Regions from separate parts of the Homo sapiens genome. Here region 2 is linked to region 1. Evidence: promoter capture Hi-C in human tissues and cell types (Jung and others, 2019). All regions are on one chromosome and are shown on one strand. Each heading gives the region's core, a stretch centred on a gene start or on the middle of the fragment in contact. The rest is flanking DNA. Distances are from core to core; before and after follow the strand shown.

What was found. The method cuts DNA at HindIII sites, captures the fragments that hold promoters and counts their contacts. A contact is called where the count stands out against the background at its distance.
Region 2: a fragment that was not itself captured here is called in contact with the fragment with the promoter of EPHA2 in region 1 in 1 of the 25 tissues and cell types used here (liver).

The regions. Positions count from the first base shown.
Region 1 is chr1:16,153,504-16,159,033 of GRCh38, forward strand. EPHA2 (EPH receptor A2) reads right to left here and starts at 2,566. Exons shown (of 17, transcript NM_004431.5): 1 at 2,345-2,566. The coding sequence starts at 2,429. It overlaps EPHA2-AS1 (EPHA2 antisense RNA 1), which reads left to right and starts at 1,712. Exons shown (of 3, transcript NR_187275.1): 1 at 1,712-2,252; 2 at 3,468-3,676. The HindIII fragment of the contact is 22,393 bases long and covers 1-5,530 here.
Region 2 is chr1:16,391,083-16,396,612 of GRCh38, forward strand. It overlaps SZRD1 (SUZ RNA binding domain containing 1), which reads left to right. Exons shown (of 4, transcript NM_001114600.3): 2 at 293-342; 3 at 2,146-2,400; 4 at 3,956-5,530. The coding sequence ends at 4,058. It also overlaps a transcript of SPATA21 not described here. Among named protein-coding and RNA genes, the nearest start is that of SZRD1, 27 kb to the left of the region's middle. RefSeq lists an enhancer at 1,936-2,842. The HindIII fragment of the contact is 6,209 bases long and covers 1-5,269 here.

The sequences.
Region 1 (5,530 bases), core at 1,316-3,815:
GGCCCCTGCCCAGCTATGCCTGCTTCCCAGGAAAATCTACCATGACACCAACCACAAAGCAGGCAGGGCCTTGGCTCTGGCAGCCAAGAAGCGGGATGCTCAGGTCTGGTCCTCTGTCCAGAAGGCCCTGGTTGGCAAGGGCTCGGGCCTCCCTCAGTTTCCCCATTTGTAAAAATGAGGGCAGATTCAGTGGCTGTTGATGACCTAACAGGAGCCACGTGGGCAACCAAGTATAGCCTAGGGGTGAGGGGGCAAGAAAGAAGTCTGAAGCAGCCTGGGGGTAGGTGAAAAAGGCACCTGTGTCCTCCTGCCTGCCCCCTAAGCCACCCCCAGGCAGACCCACCACATACAGCCTGATTCCCAGGAACTGAAACCAGCAGCTGCCAGCTAGGCCATCATGCCCACCCCCACCTAGGCACACTTCTCTAGGGACTCTTTCACGGGGACTCAGAGTCGAAGCAAAAATGTACCCCCACCCCAGTGCAATACACAAGCCTTTCCCCCTGCATCCCATGGGGTGTGGGGGTGGGGTTTAATCACACAGGCTGGGGAGAGGTGGACACAGGGGACAAGGACAAGGCAGCTCCAGGCTTCCAGGCCAGCTTGGGGACTGCAGCAGCAAAGCACCCGCCTAATCCCCCACCCCCCCATGGGCAGCCGAGGAGAAAGGCCTATAGTGATTCCAGCTGTCTCTCCCCTTCTCTCCAACCACAGTCCCCCAGGAAGGGGGAGGACCAAACGTTGGTGGGGCGGATATTGAGGGTGGCAGAAATCCTTGCCATGAGCTCCTGCAACCAGAAGTCCCGGTTGAGACCCCAACCCGGGCCCTGTCACTCCAGAGACTGAGACAGGATGCCACCCCCAACACCTGCCACTGCCCAACGGCTCCAGATCCGGCCTCTTTTCCTCCCAACACAGAACAGCAAAACCTCCAAACCCAGTTTGGGAGGCAGAAAAAGAAGGAAACAGGCCGGGGGTGGTGGCTCATGCCTGTAATCGCAGCACTTTGGGAGGCCGCGGCGGGTGGATCACCTGAGGTCAGGAGTTCAGAATCAGCCTGGCCAACATGGTGAAACCTCGTCTCCACTAAAAGATGCAAAAATTAGACGCGCCTGGTGGCGGGCACCTGTAATCCCAGCTACTAGGGAGGCTTGAGACAGGAGAATAGCTTGAACCCGGGAGGCAGAGGTTGCAGTGAGCCGAGATTGCGCCATTGCACTCCAGTCTGGGCAACAAGTGCGAAACTCCGTCTCAAAAAAAAAAAAAAAAAAAAAAAAGAAGGAAACTTCTCACCGGCCCAAGTTTCCTCCCGGCTTCCCCCTTGTGGAGCCTGCGGAAACCTCGCTCTGCCCAGGCAGGAGGGGAAGCCTTGCCCTCACTGTTGGAAATTGAAGCTGGCCTGGGCTGGGTGGACAGGAAGGTCTTCGGCCAGGGCAGGAGCCCCCATCCTCGCCCTGACCCTAGCGGAGGGACAACACCCCCACCACGCACCCGCTGCGCCATGAGCAAAGTCTGCGGCCCCTCACTCGGCGCGGCTCCGGGAACACTGGGGCGGGGGTGGGTGATTCAGTCCCCCACCCCCGGGTGTCCTGACTCCCTGGTGGCCCTGGGCTGACAGCTCCACACCTTGGGAGGCCGCACCCCCACCTGCCGCATTTCCTCGTTCTGAGTCACCCTTGCTCAGAACGCTTGACTTTGGGACTTCCTGTCCGCACTCGCGGCCCCTAACCTGCCCCGGGAGCCCGGGAGTGCGGCTTGGGAAGGAGGGAAAGGAGTGTGTGAGCAGGGATTGGCCCGAACCTATCTCCACGCTCTCCCCCGGGACTGGAGGTGAAGGGGGGCGTGGAGAAAATCTCAGGGAACAGGGGCTTCGACAGGGGGCTCCCGCCCGCCCGAGCCCCCTCCCCAAAATGCGAGGCCTGCACAGTATGCCTTCTCCGCAAAACCTCGGCAAGCGGGTTAGTGAATTCAGGTCACTAAGAAGCTGAGCCCGCGGAAAGCTGCCCAAACACCCCCTTCTCTAGGGGACTCCCCACGCCCCCCGCCGGGACGCGTTCCCGAAGTCGCCGCCTGGACTGCAACCGCGTGGCCTGCGCCGCGTCCTCTTCTCCGCAGCCTCCGAGGCCCGTGCGACCAAGCTGAAACCGCTTATTCTCCGGAGCCCCTATGACCCCGGGTGGGGGCCAGGGCTCGCCTCGATCGCAGCCCGTGCGCCCTCCGGACTCCAGTTCGCCGGGACTGGGCGACACCAGGTAGGTTCCAAAGTTGCGCGCGTCAAGGAGCGCCGGGCTCTAGGGGGCACTGGGGCCCGGGGGCCAGGGGTCCAGACGCCGCGCGCACTCACCTTCCTTGCCCTGCGCCGCCGCGGCCGCGGCCAGCGCACAGCCCCACAGCAGGGCGAAGCAGGCGCGGGCTGCCTGGAGCTCCATGCCGCGCTTCTCGCTCTCGGTCCGATCCCCCCGAGCCCGGCTCCCGCACACCCGCACGCCTGCACGCCGGCCTCGGTGTCCGCTCCCGCCCGCCGGCCTGCGCGCAACTTCTGCCCCTCCTGCCCCGAGTCCTTAATGGAAGTTGGGTGAGAACCGACTCCTGTTCATTCATGCCCTGCGTGACGTCACCAACGCCCGCCCTCAGGAATGTCTTTAAAGGGGCCGGGCTGGCACCCGGAGGAGAGGGAGGGGAAGTCCGGAGGGGTTTGGAGGAGGACCTTGGGGCCCTCTGGACTCGCGGGCTCCCCGCAGGCCTTCCAAAGTTTGAGCGTCTCAAAGCGCCAGCGCCCCTACGGATTAGCCCCCAGGGATCTCTGAGCCTGGTATCCTCGGTGGAAACGTTTAATGGTTTTGCGCTGAGCCATACCCATTCTGCCCTTCACCTCTGAGACTGAGCTCAATGCGACTGAGCTCAACGCTGGCCTGAAGGTCTGAGCTGAAATGGATTGGGGGTCCAATAAGCAGTTGCCTCCTAAGCAGCAGGCCTGAGAGAGTGGCCCAGAAATAGACCTGGATGCCCTCCTTCCTAAAACCCTTGAAGAGTATATCAAGCTGCTGATGGTCAAAAAGAGTATCTCTGTTCAGAAGCCTATAAGCCTACTATGATCTGAGAATAGGTTCATTTCCTCTGGGAATGGATCAGACATGCACTATCTTATTTATTAATAATTCTCATCTGGGAGGCAGGGGTCATCATCCCCATGTTACAGAAGAGGAGACTGAGGCTCCAAGAGCAGAAACAACATGCCCAAAGGGTGCACAGCTCACGGGTAGTAGAAGCAGGATTTGAATCCTGGTGGTCTCTGCTTGAACCACTGCTTCTTTTTGGGGAAGGGGGCAAGGGGCACCCCTGGCCCCCGACCCTGGCATGGGTTGATAGGTTTTGACAGTTTGGAGGACACCTGCCTACCACCTGCCCCTTGATAAGGCCTCTTCACAAAACTTCCTCAGACATGAGCTCATCTCCCTTCCTGACAGAAGCGGCTAGTGTGAGTGAAACAAACGGGAAATTTGCTCTGGCCCGCCTGCCCAGCCACCCACGGCTGCCTGTTGGCCAATCACCATTTGACCAGTCCAGGAAGAGCAACTGTGGCAGGCCTGATTTCCTGGGAGGCCCCAGACTCCCTTTGCCTACCTCTTCCTCTCTGACCCCATCCTCGCTTTGATGCCCGGGACCTGCTACCCAGGTACGTGGGTCTTCTCTGCCGGATGTGGACATCTTGGCCTCTCGCCTTGGTGCCTACTCTTGGGAAGCGGGTCCAGACATCTCTCCTGCAGGAAGAGAGGAAGGGTTAATTACAGGCGTTGGGGATAATTAAAGCCTTTGACCAAGAGGATGGGAGGAGAGCCTTGGTCCTCTGAGAGCCTGTGAGTGTGCAAGTGCCTGTGAGAATAAGTGCATGTGTATGAGGGTGTGAGATTTTGTTGAATGTGCATTCGTGTGTATAGACATGAGAGTGTTGATGTATGTATGACTGTGTGTGAGTGTGTGTATGGACATAAGTGTTGTATGTGACTGGGCAGGGTGGCTCAGGCCTGTAATTCCAGCACTTTGGGAGGCCGAGGCAGGCAGATCATTTGAGGTCAGGAGCTCCAGACATGCCTGGCCAACATGGTGAAACCCCGTCTCTACTAAAAATACAAAAAAATTAGCTGGGCGTGGTGCCACTCACCTGTAATCCCATCTACTAAGGAGGCTAAGGCAGGAGAATCACTTGAACCCCAGAGGCAGAGATTGCAGTGAGCCGAGATTGCGCCACTCACTGCACTCCAGCCTGGGCCAGCAAGACTCTGTCTCAAAAAAAAAAAGAAAAAAGTGTTGGTATATGTGTGTATAAGTGTGTGTGCATGGGCATGAGAGGATTTGGGTATGAGTGTGTGTCTGTGTGTGTTTTTGTGGATTGTGTGGATGTGTCTAGATGTGTGTATGAGTGTGCATGTGGGTGTGAGAGATTTGTGTATGAGTGCATGTGAGTGTGGATTTGTGTATGCATGTATTTGTGAGTGTGCCATACTTCACAGTAGATGTGGAGTCAGCCCATGAGTTTCTGAACAAGTTATTTCACTTTTCTGAGCCTCAGTTTGCTCCTGGAAAGATGTAAAGCCTATTTAGGAGAGTTACTGTAAAGATCAAATAAAGTCATGCATGTAAACCACAGGGGCCAGGACTACAGAAAGCACGCATGAAATCTCAGCTGTTACTGGGTTACATGCGGTTCAGCAACAGGAAGCCACATCCGTGGAGAGCAGGGCATGTGTTGTGCCCAGGGCTCTGTGGACAGGCACATGGGGTGTGTGGATGAGTGTGAGCATGTGTGTAGTACGTGGTTTGGATAAGTGTTTTGCATGTTGTATTGGAGCCTCTGGGCTAGGGACACTGGCGTGTGTAAGACTCCATGTGAGTTGTGTGGAAGCCACTGCTTGTACATGTGTGTTACATGCCACTTGCAGGCTCCATCTGTCAGATGTGTCACTAGAGGACACACTGCAGGAGGACAGGGATGTTTGTAGAAAACAGACAGTGCCTGGGCCAGGCGCGGTGGCTCACGCCTGTAATCCCAGCACTTTGGGAGGCCGAGGCAGATAGATCACTTGAGGTCAGGAGTTTGAGACCAAGCTTGTCATCATGGTGAAACCCCGTCTCTACTAAAAATACAAAAATTAGCCGGGCGTGGTGGCGCATGCCCGTAATCCCAGCTGCTCGAGTTGGAGGCAGGAAAGTCGCTTGAACCCAGGAGGTGGAGGTTGCAGTGAGCCGAGACCGCGGCACTGCACTCCAGCCTGGGTGACAGAGCGAGAGCCAAAAACAAAAAAAGAAAACAGACAGTGCCTGATACATACTAGATATTCAGCAAGCCTCCGCTGAATGAATGAACTAATGAGTGAATGACAGTGTTGCGAGTTCTGTGTTGCGTGAAAGTCTCTGTGTGTAGTGTTGGTTGGTCCTTCTGGTGGCAAGTGTGGGTTTCCATGTGTGGCCTCAAAAGGTTGAATCCAAGCACACACACGGCAGGGGTGCAGGCAGGCCCTGATGGCTGTGG
Region 2 (5,530 bases), core at 915-3,414, 240 kb after region 1:
GCTCTGTGAAAGACAGATTACAGGTCAGAAAACTGGTTGGAGGCTATGCAAAGAACCCAGCTGAACAATGAGGTTTAGAACTGTCATGGCGGCCATGGGGCTAGAAGGGAGATGGACCTGCAGAGGGTATCAGGTCCCCAAACCCCAAAATCTAGTCCACATTTGTTATGTTGAAGGACACAGTCATGTCCCTGGCTAGAGAAAGGACACTGCCCTTAGCTCCAAAAATAAAGACTAAGTTTTTATTTGAGAGAGATTTTTTCCTCTTTTTATATACATTTTTTTCCTCTAGGAAATAGACAGACGGTTGGAAAAAAAACTGAAGATCACACAAAAAGAGAGGTAAGGCTGCTGTCTGGTCTGAGGGCTCATGCTCTCTGTGGTTTGAGAGCCGGGCAGTCAGTGGTGTTCTCCAGCTGGCCATTAGGATTAGCAGGTCCTAGCAGGTCAGGCTCTGGGGCAGCAAACCCTTCCCTCCAAATTGGAGACCAGGACGTGGTGGCTTGAGGCTTTAGGGTTGAGGCTGGGGTGTTGCACCTGCCTCTGACCTTCGTGGGCTCCCTGTGTGAGGTCATCTGATGCAATGTGAGGAAGTGACAAGTTGGAAGACTTGAGTTTTAGGCCTGGCAGTGCCCCAGTTGCTCTGAGGTCTGGGGCAAGTCATTTCCCAGATCTGGACATCAGTTTCTTTCTCTGTGGCATGAGGAGTGTGGGCAGATGATTTCTCTGGGTCCCCAGTGACTTGGTGGTCTAGGGTATTATGAGGGTATCCTGGAAGAAAACATTCTAGGAAATTCTTGAAAAAACCTTTAAAAATAGCTTTGTTTTCCACCTAGACGACAGAGGAGGGTGTTTCCAGAGTAGGTGAAAGTTGACTTCGGCTTTCTGCTTTTGGGCTTAGGGAACCTGTTGGTTTTCCATAGGTACAAGGGACAGGAAGGAGGATAGGGCCCCTCTGGATTTGCTCACGGGGCTGCACAGTCATTCCCCAGGAAACTCTGGGTGCTCTGCCCGCCCGCTAGTTTTCCTGGCTCCCTGCCTCTTTGATCAGATTGCTGGCTCCTTGTCTGTCTGCTCATCTCAGCAACCACGCTAACCCTGGGTTACAGTCCTCGTTCCATACCATTTGTGTCCTACCCGAGACTTGTTTCCATCCACCCTGGCTCAGTTCCTCCAATCCCGACTCCTCCTGACAGCCAAGGCTCTGGAAGCAGGCTTGTTTGGTTCTGAAGAGAAGCTGGTTGACTGCTCTGGGTAGGGTCCTGGTGGCTGTTGTCGGGTGGTCATTCCTGCCTGGGTTCCTGTCTCCTCCTGTGGCTTTTGTTTCTTTCCCTTCCTGTGTTGTTGTCCCTCTTTGTTTTTTGTCATTCCACCTCTCCCTGTGGACACATCGCCTTGATGTACGCGTCCACCAGCCTTGGACAATGCTTTTCTTTTGAGCATTGCCAAGCACTGTTTCTAGGAGCATCCTTCACTCCAGCCCCGCCGCTGTCCAAAAGACCAGGGAGCCCTGGCAAGGGAGGTTTCTCTGTTCAGAAGCTTTTTGAAGAGGATTCAGTTGTCTGGTGTAGCTTGTCTCTGGGAGGCACAGGTCACTCTCACTAGAAGGTGGCTTGGTAAATCTTGATGCCAGGCAGGGATGGCGTAGTGGGCTCCTTTGTAGTGTTTGTCTGGTTTGAGCATGTGATGGAAGATTTGGCTGAGTGAACACTGCTGACCCCCAAGTTCAAAGGCTCCCACCCCACCAGCCAGTCCTACTCTGATCTGCGTAGAGAAGCTGGGATCTTAACTGACGTCATTCAATTCTGGACATAAACTGTTTTGCTGCAGGGCCAAATAGTGGTTGATGTGGCTGTGGTGAACATGGGGATAGAAGTGCCAGAATGAGGTGGCGTTCCAGCCCCTGTGGCCAGGGGTTAGGGCTGAGGAGCAGTTCCTGTGGCCTGTCAGAGCTGGTCGCAAGCTTACTTTTTTGGGACACCCTTCTTGAGGAGTGGAAATTTTGCTGTCTGGTCAGAGGCCAGAGAATCATGCATGGGTAGAATTAGGGAGGGAGAGGAAAGTGATGAGAGGTGGGTGTGGGACATGGACAGGGCCTCCTTAGTCAGGAGCATGATTTGTGAAGCTGTGTTTGCTCTTTGTCAGCAGGAAATCCAAATCTCCTCCCAAAGTGCCCATTGTGATTCAGGACGATAGCCTTCCCGCGGGGCCCCCTCCACAGATCCGCATCCTCAAGAGGCCCACCAGCAACGGTGTGGTCAGCAGCCCCAACTCCACCAGCAGGCCCACCCTTCCAGTCAAGTCCCTAGCACAGCGAGAGGCCGAGTACGCCGAGGCCCGGAAGCGGATCCTGGGCAGCGCCAGCCCCGAGGAGGAGCAGGAGAAACCCATCCTCGACAGGTGAGTGTGGCTGGCAGGGCCGGCCAGTGATGGCTGTCCCAGTCCACCCGGGAAGAGGAGAGCATCCTGGCTGCGTGTAGAGTAGTGAGAAGCAAGCAGAGTCAGGGTAGGAACCATGCAGCTCCACTTGCTGATCCCAGCCTGCTGGCACTAGTTCACTGTGCCGCATTGGCTGGAGAGGGCTCTGAAAGCCTTGCCAGGGAGGAGGTGGCAGTTTGCTGGCATGCTCCCTCTGCGGTTGGTAGTCACCGGGGGCACTGTTGTGTAGAGAGTGAAGGCACAGATGAGCTTGTGTCAAAATCTGCCTCTTACCTCTTCTTTAGAACGACTTGACCTCTCTGGGCCTTAGTTTTCTCATCTGAAAAAATGGGATAATAATAGTACCAACCTTATCAAGGTGTTGTGCAATTCAGTGAGTAAATGAGCATAGGATGTGGAGAGCCTGGGCTGGCAGAGTGGAAAGTACCCCAGATAAGTGCTTTGATGATATTTTCTGGGTCTCCAGTATGCCCACTGTGATGTTTTTGTGAATTTTCTAAATTCCTTTTTACTCTTAACATTTTTTTCTCTGCAGTATTAAAGGTTGCATCATATAAGTTTATCACTTTCGAATCAAACAGTATTCATTAAGATGGCCTCCTTCTAACTTTGAGGGGCTGCTATGGTTTGGTATTCTGGGACTTGAAGAAAAAATCTGCGTACCTTCTTTCTAGCTCTTCATAATTTTGAAGAGATACCTGTTCTTTTTGTTGTTTCTCCTCTAAGTCTTCACCTTTCCAGGGTGGAAAAATAGTCATATGAGTCAACCGTTAACCGCAGAGTTTGGAGAGGAGTGGGAGGGAAGAATTGGGGGGCGGGGGATGTGTCCCTCTGCTGAGCTCTTGATTCCAGTTCTTTACTTTGGCCTAACACTCTGGAGATTCCAAATGGTTCTGCGGAGCATGTGCTATCCATGGTCACTGCCTCTGGGCAGAGTGGGCCCTCAAGCACTCCCCCTGCCTACAAGTGCATGATGGCAGCTGAGCAGGGGGAAAGGATGCTGTAGCTGCTAGAGGTGAATGTGCACCACCGACCCTGCCTGCTCACAGGGGCCTCTCAACTTGGAGGTGCCCTGAGTCAGCTTCCCAAAGAAGCAGGCTTGCGGAGCCAGAGTGACGTGGGCCCAGCTATATGGACAGTTGATTTTAAGATGGGGGACATCTAGGCCAGGTGCAGTAATCCCAGTACTTTGAGAGGCCGAGGTGGACGGATCACTTGAGGTCAGGAGTTCAAGACCAGCCTGGCCGACATGGTGAAACCCCATCTCTACTAAAATTACAAAAATTAGCTGGGTGTGGTAGCATATGCCTGTAGTCCCAGCTACTCGGTAGGCTGAGGTAGGAGGATCACTTGAACTCAGGAGGTGGGGGTTGCAGTGAGCGGAGATCGTGCCACTGCACTCCAATCTAGGTGACAGAATGAGACTCCGTCTCAAAAATAAATAAAAAATAAAGAAATGATGGGGGACATCTATTATATCCTTCTTCAGGCCTTCCTCTGCTTTTCTTCCTTTCAGGCCAACCAGGATCTCCCAACCCGAAGACAGCAGGCAGCCCAATAATGTGATCAGACAGCCTTTGGGTCCTGATGGGTCTCAAGGCTTCAAACAGCGCAGATAAATGCAGGCAAGAAAAGATGCCGCCGTTGCTGCCGTCACCGCCTCCTGGGTCGTCCGCCACGGGTTGCACTGCCGTGGCAGACAGCTGGACTTGAGCAGAGGGAACGACCTGACTTACTTGCACTGTGATCCCCCTTGCTCCGCCCACTGTGACCTTGAACCCCATGCACTGTGACCTCCCCCCTTCTCCCCCTTCCCACTGTGATTGGCACATCGACAAGGGCTGTCCCAAGTCAATGGAAAGGGAAAGGGTGGGGGTTAGGGGAAGGTTGGGGGGACCCAGCAAGGACTCAGAGAGTCAGACAGTGCCACTTGGCCACTTGGGGTAAAGCCAGTGCCAGCAATAACAGTTTATCATGCTCATTAATTTGGGATTTCAAAACACAAATGAAAACTCACACCCACCCACCCCCAAGTGCATGTCTCCATCACTTAAAAAGTAAGTTCCATTTGAAAATATCCTTTCTTTTTTTTTTCTTCCTATTTTTGTTTGTTTATACAAATATCTGATTTGCAAGAAAAAGTGCATGGGAGGGGTTTTAGTGGTTTAATGAATTTTTAATTAAGAAAGGGTAGTTTGGTAGTCTACTTAAAAATGTTTCTGGGAAATTCACTAGAAACATTAACCAATAGGATTTTGGTGAGCTTAGCTTCTGTATTCCTACTGCCGCCCAGAAAAGGGGCAGGGCTCTGCAGCCGCCAGGACAGACGAGCACCCCATGCCTATACCTCCCTCCCCGAGCTAAGTCCCAGGGCATCTGGGCCTTGCCTGGAGACTGGGCTAGCTCTGTAGGCTCGGAGAGCCTGGGGAGGGTGCCAACCCCACCTCTAGTATTTTGGGAGATAGGGAAAGTGAACCGACTTCCCCTTCCCATACCCCTCAGGGTGGTTCCCTACCAGCCAGGCTTACTACTTCTAGAAGAAAGCAGAGTGCCAGGGAGTGAGATTGCATCCCTGGGCTTAGAAGTGACGGAGAGAAGACTTGTTTAGTATTTTGCCATCAGCACAAGGAAAACCAGGAGAGAGTCTGCCTCCAGGACTCTGAGCCTTCTGCCTCGTATGTTCAGAAGGTGGATAGGTCTTCCCACTCCAGCATGGCTTGAACTCTTAGGGGTCTGCAGTGCTCCATCTCCATTGGTGGCCCCAGCTCAGTAACTATACCTGGTACATTTCCTGTGTGCAATCAGTACCTTGAAGGCAGAACATTCTGAATAAAGTTGGAAAAAGAACAGCTTTGCTTTGCAAAGATTGATGACAGACTGGTTCCTCAGAGGCCTAGGCTACCCGTCACCCCTTTTTCCAGAGCGAGGGCCTGGAATGAAGGCAGTTTATCCTCTGTCCCTGGAGCCTGGGGTTTGCTTTGGCTCCTTGAGGTGGAAGAGACTAAGAGGGCAGCTGCCCAGAGCAGCTGTGTGTACCTGGCTCCTCTCAGGCTTCCTGATCCCTTCCGTTGCACTGCGCCTTATCCCTCAG